Linked DNA regions of Homo sapiens: region 2 is linked to region 1. Evidence: promoter capture Hi-C in 16 types of primary human blood cells and fetal thymus (Javierre and others, 2016). All regions are on one chromosome and are shown on one strand. Each heading gives the region's core, a stretch centred on a gene start or on the middle of the fragment in contact. The rest is flanking DNA. Distances are from core to core; before and after follow the strand shown.

Region 1 (6,675 bases), core at 3,344-5,843:
TAACATTCTGGAAAAACCAGAGTAAAGGTCAAAATAACAAGTAAAATGGAGAAACACAACGCATGAATAATAGGACTGTACAAAACATGGTATAATAGAAAGATCACTGGATTTAGAATTGGAAGATCTGAATTTGAGCCTCAAGTAGCACTACTCATTGACTTTGACTGTGGAACTTTTCTTAGTGAATTAACCTCTTTGTCTCAGGGTCCTCCTCCATTCATTTACCCTCCTTGTGAATATACGAAAAAGATAAGGTATGTGCTTGCCTTGCTCAAGGTGCTAGGCAAGAGTACAGTGACATTCCATCCTAACTTTGCACAGACCTACTCAAGTGTGGCAGCGGGTATATCTCCAATCTACAGTCGTGGAGACAGAGGGTCAGAGTGGTTACCTGTCTTAGCAAAGGGGAATTAGACCTCAAAGCTGCCAGATGGTTTGAATGAAAATACAAGGCACACTTCTACCATAGTCTGCCTAGGTGGTGTGAGAAATGAGCAGATTTTAGAAAGCCAAGTTAAAAAATTTACAAGTTCTTTATTCTCTAGGACATTATACAGTTTTTAAAAATTAGTTTTTCCAAACCATAGTGATTATATACTTTGTCTTTTCAAACACTTACCTTCTATTCCTTAACAAGCAAATGGTATTCTACAAAAAAGCAGTTTACGTTCTCCCAATGTTATTCTATTTATATCTAGATGTCACAGATTACCCAAGATATGGAATCTTCTTTCCACACCTGCATTGAAACAGAATTGAAACTGAAGATTGAGTTCGTTTTAATGAATGTTAAAGGCATGTGTCTGCCCAGTTGTGTGGGACCTGGTTGGCAGATAACATAATATAAATTGGGAATTCGCCCAGTAACAGTGAATAAGCACAGTGGTACACAGCGTAGGCATACGGAATGAATGTTGCTGAACAACATACTGTGTAATGCGATCATAGTAAAATATGCTTAACTGGAAAATACCATTTGCATACCATAAGTGTACCATATAATTTTTTTTTGGTTTGTTTTTGAGACGGAGCCTTGCTCTGTCGCCACGCTGGAGTGCAGTGGCACGATCTCGGCTCACTGCAACCTCTGCCTCCCAGGTTCAAGTGATTCCCTTACCTCAGCCTCCCGAGTAGCTGGGACTTCAGGTGCATGCCACCGTGCCCAGCTAACTTTTTGCATTTTAGTAGAGATGGGGTTTCACCATGTTGGCCAGGGTGGTCTTGATTTCCTGACCTCATGATCCGCCCACCTCAGCCTCCCAAAGTGCTGGGATTACAGGCGTGAGCCACCAAGCCCGGCCATAGACATTTGTATGTCATTCCCTTAATTTGTTTCCCAGACAGAAGCTCAGAGCCTGATATCTGTCACACCTAATCCTGACTCCCAGTTCCCCCTATACCACACTATCTTTCAAATACTGACTGCTCACTTAGTACTAGGTGCATGGCCTGCAGGAGGAGGTGGGAACACTGGGAACAAGATCTGATTCTTGACTAGAGAGCCGAAAGAAACCATAAATCAAACACTACAGGAACTCAGAGGGAAAGGAGCCCCATTCTGGCTGGGGTTTTGTGGGAAAGGAGAGATTTGTGAGTTTTTGTGTTGAGAAGACTGGGATGGGTTGGATCTCTGTTTCTAAATCTGTTAAAAAGACCACCACCCATCACTTCATGAGTCCTACCCTGTCTTGTGGAATCAGAATTACTGAATGGAGCCCAGGCATTTTTTAAAAAAGTTCCCTTGGTAATTCTGTTCCTTAGCAAGTCTTGGGAAGTGCCTTCCAGATAGAGGAAATAGTTGGAGAAATATGGAAGTCAGCATAAGACATATGTGGAGAGCAGAGTGTAATCTGATTATTGATTTTAGCTGGAGTTGAGAGTGGGTTAGGGAATATTGGGAGAGATAAGGCTGTAAGGGTGATTTGAGCTGGCCTGTAGAAGGCCTTAGCTGCCAGGCCTGGGTGTGTGGACTTTATTTGGTAAATAAAGGGCAAGTGTGGAAGAGTTTTGTGTAGGTGATAAGCATGCTTTCTTGGGGCAGGGCAGGGGAGACTGGAGGGTGGGTGAGTGGTCAGAGGCGGGGACCCCCTTGTTAGGAGGTTATGCATAATCTCAGTTGCAATATCTGAATTACTGGGGTGGTAATGGTGGGCCTGGGAAGGAAGGGAGCAGAGCACAAGGCTTTTCAAAGGAAAGGCATGTTGGATTTGCAAGGGATTGGTTGGGCAGGGTGGAAGACAGAGCTAGATCTTACTGTTTACTAACGAGGCACAAAGTGTTGGGTGAAGGACTATGGTTGGCAGATAGGATGCTACTGGGAGACCACCTTGGATTCATCTTTGTTTCCTCTCTAGGCCATGGCACTTGCATCTAGTCAGTTGCCTGTAGCTGGGTCAAGGTGAGGTAGGGGGCCAGATCTCCATCACCAGAAGTGGCCTATGGGAGACAGTAAAACTTCTGGGGTTGGGGCCTTGGAGAGTCCCAAATGGTTGCTGTGGTTTTTACTTTTATTTTTGTAGATTTGGGGGATACCAATACAGTTTTGCTACATAGATATATTGCATAGTGGTGAAGTCTAGGCTTTTAATGTAACCATGATCCAAACAGTGAACATTGTACCCAGTAGGTAATTTTTCAACCCTCTCTCGGTTGCTGTGGTTTTGGAGACAGGTTCATGGTGAAGCTGGCTGAAGAGACAGATGGGATAATTGTCTCCAATGACCAGTTCCGGGACCTGGCGGAGGAGTCTGAGAAGTGGATGGCAATCATCAGAGAACGGTGAGGGAGCCCTCCCGCTGAGAACTGGGCACAGATGCAGATGTTTTTCTAAAGCCAGCTCTGCTCTGGCCATGGGGTGAAAACTCTGGGAAGGAGGTGAAGTTTTCTTGAAGGATGGAGCCAGCAGCTTCTGGTGATACTGGTCTCGGTTGTCTGGGAGGTGGGCAAGGGCCCCCTCTGTGACCACACATTATCTTTCGCCATCCAGCCTGCTGCCCTTTACCTTTGTGGGAAACCTCTTCATGGTACCTGATGACCCACTGGGGCGAAACGGCCCCACCCTGGATGAATTTCTGAAGAAGCCAGCCAGGTAATCAATCCCCTAGACTACTTACAGGCAGCCCCCACCCCTGGCCCTCTCTCAGCAGGCCCAGAGACTTGGGTGGAAGTGTGACCTCAGTTTGGGCCAGCTTAATTTTGCAGTGGTTTGAGTTGCATTGGCCTTGGCCTTTATAAGCTTCCCAGGGGATCCTGACATAGAACCTCCTTGCTGGGAGGGAAACACCTGCTTCCTGTTTCTCTTAATCAGCATGTTTGATGGAGTTATTTGGAAAATGGTTGCTTATACTGACAGCCAGTTGTATTCAGCATGCCTTCTGCTGACCATTACATAAGTGATTCATTTAGGACTAGAACTAGATCATAATAGTGGCAGAGTTCACCCTGTTTCTAAAAGAACGGCCCATCTTCCCTTCAGAAGTGGGTTGATACTGCCACTCAGTGGTCAGCTTCAGGAACTTCAGGATTTCTCCCCCAAAGCCAGGAATAGGCAGGACAATTACGAGAGGGGTGCCCACTAAGATCTAATTTCCCCCCCAGGATGCTCATCAGCTCTTTTTGGTCTGTTTCTTCCCAGGACACAGGGGTCTTCTAAGGCTCAGCATCCTTCCAGGGGCTTTGCAGAACATGGTAAACAGCAGCAGGGGAGAGAAGAGGAAAAAGGTAGTGGTGGCATTCGGAAGACCCGGGAAACAGAGCGGCTCCGGCGGCAGCTGCTGGAGGTGTTTTGGGGTCAGGATCACAAAGTGGACTTCATCCTGCAGCGGGAGCCATACTGCCGGGACATCAACCAACTGTCTGAGGCCCTGCTCAGTCTTAACTTTTGAGCCTCACCTGCTTGAGTGGCTGCCGCCCTGTCAGCTCCAGCCGCCTCCAGCTCAGCCCTTTCTGTGAGAGTCCCTCTGCTGCTCACTCTGATCCAGAGGCACCCTGAGTTGGTGCTTTGGATCAGGGAAGCCACTTTGGGACAGGTCCATAAAGTGAACTGATCTTACCGAGTCAGGACCTCAGCCAGCTCTCAAGAGGTTCTGCTCAGCCTTAACTTCTCAACTTTGCCTTAGCACAGGGTTTCTGTAGGGAGTGGGGGCTGCTAGAGGGGATTAGTTCCGGAGACTGAGACTGTTGGCTCCACCTCCAAGCTGAGCTAGGGTGGAGGGCAGGGTGGGCAGGAAGTGACAGGAAGTTAAGCTGTTCCTCTCCCTGGCTGCTGCTCTGGATGGCCAGAGAACAAGATGCTCCCTTGCTGAGCTCCTGGGAGCGTGGAAGGAGATGCTAGGCCCTGGCACAGTGTTATGTGGACTGGGCCACGATAGGGTGGAGTGAGCTAGTGAAGAAGGCAGAGGGAGACTTGGCTTCTGGTCTCAGCTATGCCTGTTTTGTGACCTTGATTGAGTTGCTTGGGCTTTACTTCTGCCTACAAATCAGGGGTAAAAATACCTGTTGGGAGGAGAAATGAGAACATAGAGGAAAGCCTCTTGGAGGAAAGGTGCTTGGACCAAGTCTCAGGTGTGTCTGCCTGTGGCTGCACAGGCTCTCTAACCGAAACCTCACTTTCAGAGAGATGTGGGTCCTTTGTCTCCAGGATCCACACCCTAGATTTTAACACTGCATTCTCACTATAACGTGCCCTATAATGGCTGCATCCCTTTTGAGCAACCTCCAAAATCTACATTTACACAGTAGGTAAATTAGGGATGACTGCATTATCAAAATACTCTCAGGGTTCCTATAAATGGCAGCTCTCCTGTTGTATTCAGGTGTTGTTTACAGACTAACAAATGTGTTGGCAAATCCCTGGTTAGATGCACTTCCTGGTGTTGAGATGAACACGTCGATTTTTCACCAATCGATGAAGCCATGCTCTGCAATGACAATATTAATGTGATCCGACCCTAACATTTTCTCTATGGAAGACGTATGTTGCATAAAGCAAGGCACACTTCTGCTTTATGTGTGTGTGTATGGGGATGGGAGGACTTAACGGAAGTTGAACCAGTTGGTTCTAGATGAACCAATTATCTGGAAAATGAAAGAACCAGAGTTGGAAGGCACTTGACTGGCCACCAGACCAACTCTGCTGTTACTGACATGCTTTCTTCACCCTGATTCCTAGAGGTCATTGCCCTGGATCTGCTTGAAGTCCTCCTGTGCCAGGGAATTTACTATCTCCAGGGTAGCACATTCCCTGTGTAGACGGTATTAATCAGTACTCCTTACTTTAGTGCAGCCTAAAGTATGCTTTTCTGTTACATCCACCTTTGAGGCTGGTCATACCTCCAGGAACAATACAGAGCCAGTCAACTTCCTGGAATCCAAGACCAGATAAAGAAGTAGGACAGGTGCCCCTGGGTTCTGTTCTGTGTGGGCCTGTGGGGAGTCTCTAGACAAGATCTTTTCCAGGCCCTGACTTCTGCCTCCCTCTGAGTGGCACAGGGAGTTGAATACTGCATGGCGAGTGTAATGATGATGGGGAGGGTCCTTGTGTCCTCACCCCTTCCTTTTTGGTGATTTACACCACTGTACCATACTGACCCAGGCTGGGGGCAGGTGTGTTGGAGACAGGCTGGTCAAAGAGGTGACAATGATTAAGAGATAACCCAGCGGTCCCTGAGAAGAGATTGGTTAGTATGGCCTGAACTGGTGGCTGGGGGAACTGTGTCTGGTCAAGTTATGGCAGATGTCACAGCTTTAGGTAGGTAAAAAGGGTCCTAGATGAAAACCTTGGAGTTTTTTTTTTTCCTGATAGGGTTGTTTATACTTCTTGATTGGTTTCTTGCCATTTTCACTTTCAGTGATGGTGGGTGTGCAGTAGACCAAAAGTGTCTTCTGCCCTTTTGTGCTAAGGGCCCTGGTTGACTGAGTGGCCCCAGTCAGATGAGAGGCAAGTCCTAAGCTTCTTATAGACAGGGATGTTGACTTTGTTCTGCTGCAGCCTGATAAACTGGGACCACTGTGTGGTTAGTAATGCACTTGCCATTTGGTGACACAGACTGAAGGCTATCCTACACCTGGGCCTTACCTCTTCCTCTACTGGCATCCTAATGGCACTCTGACAGCATCCAGGGTGACTACAGGGCCCATTGGAAATGGATCATCATTCTCTCTTCTAGTGTCTATCTTTATCATAACCTGATGTCCCAAACTTGTGACAAGTTCTTTTGGCAACTGAAGGACCAAGAAGGGAAACGGTGATGAGAGAGACTGCTCATTGTAACTTTCAAAACCCCGTCTTTGGGGAAGAATCATCTAGGGTGACATTCCTTGAAGTAAATCCCAGGAGAATCTAGGCCAAAGAGATGAGCCAAGGTTAGTGAGACAATTTATTTTTATTGCCTAAACTGCAGAGCATTCTCTACACAGCGTAAAGGAGAAGTGGGGCAGCTGCAGGACATGTAGAGAAACCAAACTGGGAAATCTTACAAGGAGTTGAAAAGATTAATGTCCCAACCTGATGAGATTACGGCCTTGAGACAATAAGGTGGAGCAACAGAACAATGGGAAAGAGGACTGGGAGAGGAATCTAAGAACCAGATGGCTTCAGCTCTCTAGAGGAGCTGAGCCTATTCACAGTGCCTAACCTGGAAGCCTGTGAGGAACAGGCCTCAGGCCCTTGCC
Region 2 (6,675 bases), core at 1,852-4,351, 270 kb before region 1:
GCTGAGGCAGGAGAATCACTTGAACCCAGGAGGCAGAGGTTGCAGTGAGCCAAGATCGTGCCATTGCATTCCAAGCCTGGGCATCAAGAGCGAAACTCCATCTCAAAAAAAAAAAGTGGGGGAAAAAAAAAAGCCAGGTGTGGTGGTGTGTGCCTATAGTCCCAACTACTTGACCTCCTAAAGTGCTGGGATTACAGGTGTGAGCTACTATACCTGGCCTCCTTCCGTTTTCTATCATACCCCACATCCAATTCATCAGCAAATCCTGTCGCTCGCTATTCCTTCAATATGTATCCAGGGTCTGACCACTTCTCTCTGTTCCCATCAGCAACACTTTGGAACAAACTACCACCATCTCTCATGTCTCCTCCTCTGCTTCCTTCACATCTGTTTCCACACGTGTCTACCTTAAGCTATTCTCAACACAGTAGAGATTCTTTTCACATGTAATTCTGATCATGTCACTCCTCTGCTCAGAACCTTCCAGTGGGTCCCAAATCACCCAGGGTAAAAGCCCAAATCCCCATAAGGACCTCTGAGGTCCTGTGATGCGACCCTACCCTCCTCTCTCTCTCTCTCTCGCCCCTTGCCATTCTTCCCCTGTCACTTTGCTCCAGGCTCCTTGAACCCACCAAACACATTTCTACCTCAGGGTCTTTGCATTTGCTGGTTCTTTTGTCTAAATTACTCTTCCTTCAGGTAGGCACATGACTTACCCACATTCTTCAAATTTTATCTCTTAAGAGAGGGGGCAAGGCTTCCCTGAGTACCCTCCCTAAATAGCAGCCGTCATTATTCTATCCTCCTATGCTGCCTCATTTTCTTCATAGCACTTACGGCCACTTCATGTATTTCTTTTTTTCTTTCTTTCTTTTTTTTTTTTTTTTTGACAGAATCGCCCATGCTGGAGCACAGCAGTGCAATCATGGCTCACTGCAGCCTCGACCTTCGGCTCAATCGATCCTCCTGTCTCAGCCTTCTGAGTAGCTGTGACTATAGGCATGTAATTTGAGAGGCCGAGGCGGGTGTCACCTGAGGTCAGGAGTTTGAGACCAGCCTGGCCAACATGGTTGAAACCCTGTCTCTACTAAAAATACAAAAAAATTAGCCAGGCATAGTGGCACATGCCTGTAGTCCCAGCTACTCAGGAGGCTTAGGTAGGAGAATTGCTTGAACCCAGGAGGCGGAGGTTGCACTGAGCCAAGATGGTCCATTGCACTCCAGCCTGGGCGACAAGCAAAATTCCATCTCAGAAAAAAAAAAAAAAAAAAAAAAAAAAAACTCTCAAATTGAAGGGGACTGTAAGAAGATAGGGTCAGCTCAGCTGCAGTAAGATATAAGTCTCAGGAAGAAGCATGCTCTGGAGTCAAGGCAGAGAAGGACATTCTAGGCCAAAGAAATGGCTGTGCAAAGGTAGGAGGCATAGGGACAAGGGTTATTATTACAACTGTACCTCTTAAATTTACACAATAATTGTTGAGAATATGGCTTTTCCAGGCTAGGAAGTTGTGCTGCATCCAAAAATGCTAAAGTCTATTTCAGCCGGGAGAACACTGACAGCTGGGAAAGGACCACACGTGGCGTGCCCATAACCTAAGTTGTTCAGATTTAGGAAGTGACCCCAGTAAGTCCTTTCGGAGTTTCGTGTAAGATTGACTTCTTCAGCTGGGGGCAGTGGCTCACGCCTGTAATCCCAGCACTTTGGGAGGCCAAGGCGGGCGGATCACCTGAGGTCAGGAGTTCGAGACCAGCCTGGCCAACATGGTGAAACCCCTGTCTCTACTAAAAAATACAAAATTTAGCCAGGTGTGGTGGTGGGCGCCTGTAATCCCAGCTACTCGGGAGCCTGAGGCAGGAGAATCCCCTGCACCGGGGAGGCGGAGGCTGCAATGAGCTGAGACTGCGCCACTGCACTCCAGCCTGGGTGACAGAGTGAAACTCCATCTCAAAAAAAAAAGAAACCAGCCTGGCCAACATAGTGAAATCCCGTCTCTTCTAAAAATGCAAAAATTAGTTGGGTGTGATGGAGGGCGCCTGTAATCCCAGCTACTCAGGAGGCCAAGACACGAGAATCGCTTGAACCTGAGGGGATGGGGGGCAGAGGATGCAGTGAGCCGAGATTGCCGAGATAGCGCCACTGCATTCCAGCCTGGGCAACAGTGAGAGCCTCCATCTCAAAAAAAAAAAAAAAAAATGGACTTCTTCCTCATTGACCTGTGGTGGCTCCAAGGCCATCAAAAAAAAAAAAAATGGACTTCTTCCTCATTGACCTGTGGTGGCTCCAAGGCCATCATCTCACAGCCTTTTTTTTTTTTTTTTTTTTTGAGACGGAGTCTTGCTCCCTTGCCCAGGTTGGAGTGGAGCTGCATGATCTCGGCTCACTGCAACCTCCGCCTCCCAGGTTCAAGCATTCTCCTGCCTCAGCCTCCTGAGTAGCTGGGATTACAGGCGCGTGCCACCACGCCCAGCTAACTTTTGCATTTTTAATAGAGACGGGGTTTCACCATATTGGTCAGGCTGGACTCGAACTCCTAACCTCATGATCCGCCCGCCTCGGCCTCCCAAAGTGCTAGGATTACAGGCGTGAGCCACTGCGCCCGGCCTCATCTCACATCTTTCTTCCTCTGCAGCACACGACACGCCCTAGTTGGAAACAAAGTCGGAGTTTGTGGATTGGGGGAAGGGCGGGGTCTAACCTCAGGTCAGGCGCCGTGCAAGGTACATCTTGGCACCCGGAAGAGGCCCAGTACAGTTGCCCCCGAGGTGACCCGACCTCCCCTACCAATTGAGGCGCCCTTGTTGCCAGGCTTGCGGCGGGGGAGCGGCGGGGGAGCGACGGGGATGCGCTCATTGGTCAAGGAAGGGGCGCCTGTTACTAGAGGCGAGAACCGGAGCCCATTGGTCGGAACACCTCACAATGGACCCCAGCGGCGCGCAAAATCCTTATGATTGGTTTGCTGGCTGCCTCGGGAGACCCTGTTGCCAGGATACTTGGCGTTCCCGACCCGACCCCCGTTCCCCATTGGCTGTCAGGGCAAAAGCCGCCATCTAATGAGGAGCGAGGTGCGGTGCCCCGAAGCGCTCGCTTCCCGCGGTGCGATCTAGTCCTGCAGTAGGCGGCCCGGGGCCACACCGCGGCCGCCCAAGCCAGTGCAAGGCCCAGGGGCCTGACATCGCTCCCAGCGCTCGAGGACCGAGGCCTGCTGTGGAGGACACCGTGCTCCCTCGGGACCTGCTCTGGATTCCGGCCCGGACGTCCCCTTGGAGCTCTGCATCTCCAACCTGGAACCCAACCCAGAAGTCTCAAGTTTGACGCATCACGTGGCGTGCGGATCCACTGAGGGTCCACAGAGAGGGGCGCCCATCTCCTGCGTCTCAGTTATCCTGGTAATTGTGTATCTGCCCATTGTTCGTTGCCTCATTAACTTGGCTTTCTAGGTGCACCCACCTTGCCACCAGAGAAGTCCAAATCCTGACTTCTCTCCAAGGTGTTGGGAATTCTGTGCCCTAAAGAATTCCGACTCAGATCCGAACGGGGATCTGGTGGAATCGAGGGTGAAAGACCAGAGGGACAATGTTCTACTATCCCAACGTGCTTCAGCGCCACACCGGCTGCTTTGCCACCATCTGGTAAGGGCGGGGCCCGTTGGCGCGCGATGGCGGACGCTGCCCGGGATCCCAGCCTGACAGCTCCCCCTCCATCCCCATTCTCCCACCTTCCCCACCCACTTCAGGCTGGCGGCGACTCGCGGCAGCCGGTTGGTGAAGCGCGAATACCTGAGGGTGAATGTGGTGAAAACCTGGTAAGGCCCAGAAAAGGGAAGGAGGGCCTGGTGCGGGGGGTGAGTTAGGGGATGGGGTGGCCAAGACTGTGGGCCCACTCCTGGACGCAGCGGTAATCAGGGCGCATTGTTCCCCAGCGAGGAAATCCTCAATTACGTGCTGGTACGAGTGCAACCCCCGCAGCCCGGCCTGCCGCGGCCCCGCTTCTCCCTCTATCTCTCAGCCCAACTTCAGATCGGTGTGATCCGCGTCTATTCTCAACAATGCCAGTACCTCGTGGGTAAGGCTGGGAACCCTCAAAGGTGGGGCGGGCTGAGCAGCTGTCTGCTAAGCTGGCTGTCTACCTCGTCCTCCCTGCCCACAGAGGACATCCAGCACATCTTGGAGCGCCTCCACCGTGCCCAGCTGCAGATCCGAATAGATATGGAGACTGAGCTGTGAGTGTGCCCTGGGCCTTTGATGGAACACCTGCTAGCTTGGCCTCAGCCTGGCTCAGCCTCAGTCCTTCACGGCCTACATTCTCTCCCAGACCCAGCCTGCTGCTTCCTAACCACCTGGCCATGATGGAGACCCTAGAAGATGCTCCAGATCCCTTTTTTGGGATGATGTCTGTGGATCCCAGACTTCCTAGTCCTTTCGATATCCCTCAGGTAGGGCTCATTCCCCAAGACTCGTGAATTGGCAATGCAGAAGGGGAGTGCTGTCCCTGTGTCACTCTGACATTGGGGTTGGGGAAGGAAGCTTACCACAGCTCTCTCCCACAGGAGATGGTGCAGGGGGACTGCCAAGGTGGACCCATCCAGGCGAAGCCCCCTGTACTTACCTACTCAGGGCCAATCTGATCAGACGGTTTCCCCACTGGAGGCAGCTCTTGTCCCCACTTGTCTCCACACTGTTTTCACTGCCAAGGCCCTAATCCAGGCTCTCATCTCTCTGCACTGGGCTTTCTTACCCCTGTCCTCCTCCATCTATTCCCAATACTCCTACAGCTTAATGTCACCCCCTTCCTTGGTTCCCCATTTGAACAGTGGCTCCTGCTGCAAACAGATTACTAGCATTTGGGGCTCTCCATGCCCCATTTATTTCTTTTTTTATTTTATTACTATTATTATTATTATTTTTGAGACAGGATCTTGCTCTGTGGCCCAGGCTGGAGTGCAGTGGCACGATCTCAGCTTACTGCAACCTCTGCCTCCCCGGTTCAAGCAATTCTCCTGCCTCAGCCTCCCGAGTAGCTGGGACTACAGGCATTTGCCACCATGCCCAACTGATTTTGTATTTTTAGTTGAGACAGGGTTTCACCATGCTGGCCAGGCTGGTTTCGAACCCCTGACCTCATGATCTGCCTGTCTCCTCCTCCTGAAGTGCTGGGATTACAGACATGAGCCACAGAGCCCGGCCCAATTTTTTTAGGGTTTCGCCTTATCGGCCAGGCTGGTCTCGAACTCCAGACCTCAGGTGATCCACCCACCCTGGCTTTCCAAAGTGCTAGGATTACAGACGTGAGCCATCGCGCTGGCCTATTATTATTATTTTTTGAAATGGAGTCTCTGTCACCCAGGCTGGAGTGCAGTGGCATGATCTTGGCTCACTTCAACCTCCGCTTCCTCTGGTCAAGCGATTCTCCTGCCTCGGCCTCCCGAATAGCTGGGATTACAGATGCCTGCCACCATGCCCGGCTAATTTTTGTATCTTTAGTAGAGATGGAGTTTCATCATGTTGGTCAGACTGGTCTTGAACTCCTGATCTCAGGCACTCCACCCGCCTCGGCCTCCCAAAGTGCTGGGATTACAGGTGTGAACCACCGTGCCTGGCACATACCCCAGTTTAGAACTAGTCATCCCCAGACTTCTCTCTCAGTCCTCTGGGCATCTGTGGCTCCTAAACACTAGTTTGGCCCTTATGCCTCAATGATGCCACATTCACATCTTTGCTTGTACTGTTTCCCTAGCCCATAATGGTCACCCCTCATCCTCTACAAGTCGGGTTCTACATATTCTTACAGACCTGGCTCAAATGCTGCCCTTCTCTATGAAATATTTATCCCAGTCTTAGCCGGAACCAAATGCAGTTTGGGAACTCAGTACTTTGCTAGGGCCTTGTTTTACCCTTTGCCTTGACTCTTGTGGGGTTACATACAACCTTGTCTCCCCACTAGACTTCCTTAAGATCAAGAATCTTTTCTGTTCACCTCTGTCAACCACAACACTTGCCAAGGATAACGATGCACTGCTGCTTGCACAAATTTTTTTTTTTTTTTTTTGAGACAGAGTCTTGCTCTGTCACCCAGGCTGGAGTGCAGTGGCTCAATCTCAGCTCACTGCAATCTCTGCTTCCCAGGTTCAAGCAATTCTCCTGTCTCCGCCTCTCAAGTAGCTGGAATTACAGGCACTGCTACCAAGCCCGGCTAATTTTTGTATTTTTAGTAGAAATCAGGTTTCACGATGTTGGCCAGGCTGGTCTGGAACTCCTGACATCAAGTGATCCACCCACCTCAGCCTCCCAAAGTGCTGGGATTACAGACATGAGCCACCGAGCCCGGCCTTCTTGCACAAATTGATGAGGGCTAGATAACTGGGGTGCGGGTTGGGGAGGGAGGTGAGAACAGGAACTGAGGAAAGAAGACCAGAGGGCGGGTGAGTTTACTGCAAGCTGATGTCAATGCAACAAGAATTAGGCATAAAAGGAGATTACCGTGCATTGTTGAAGAAGGCTGTGAAAAGTGGGAAAGCAGGGGGCTGAAGCTGAACCCTATCTTTTGTTTCCAATCCCTCTCCAAAGATTCGACACCTCTTAGAGGCTGCAATCCCAGAGAGAGTTGAAGAGATCCCTCCTGAAGTTCCTACAGAGCCCAGGGAGCCAGGTCAGCAGAGAGAACCTTCTTTCTGGTGA

What was found. Contacts are between HindIII fragments. The CHiCAGO score rates a contact against its expected background, and 5 or more counts as called.
Region 2: a contact is called between the fragment with the promoter of REC8 here and a fragment that was not itself captured in region 1, in 12 of 17 cell types (naive CD8 T cells, total B cells, neutrophils and 9 more). The highest score is 13.3, in naive CD8 T cells.

What each region holds. Positions count from the first base shown.
Region 1 is chr14:24,433,399-24,440,073 of GRCh38, forward strand. KHNYN (KH and NYN domain containing) reads left to right here. Exons shown (of 8, transcript NM_015299.3): 6 at 2,674-2,781; 7 at 2,990-3,091; 8 at 3,638-6,675. The coding sequence ends at 3,887. SDR39U1 (short chain dehydrogenase/reductase family 39U member 1) reads right to left here. Exons shown (of 6, transcript NM_020195.3): 6 at 6,368-6,675. Among named protein-coding and RNA genes, the nearest start is that of SDR39U1, 6.0 kb to the right of the region's middle. The HindIII fragment of the contact is 2,715 bases long and covers 3,237-5,951 here.
Region 2 is chr14:24,168,979-24,175,653 of GRCh38, forward strand. REC8 (REC8 meiotic recombination protein) reads left to right here and starts at 3,102. Exons shown (of 19, transcript NM_001048205.2): 1 at 3,102-3,630; 2 at 3,735-3,803; 3 at 3,921-4,063; 4 at 4,148-4,220; 5 at 4,313-4,433; 6 at 6,565-6,646. The coding sequence starts at 3,575. RefSeq lists enhancers at 2,514-3,014, 3,083-3,332 and a silencer at 2,863-2,912. The HindIII fragment of the contact is 5,740 bases long and covers 1-4,522 here.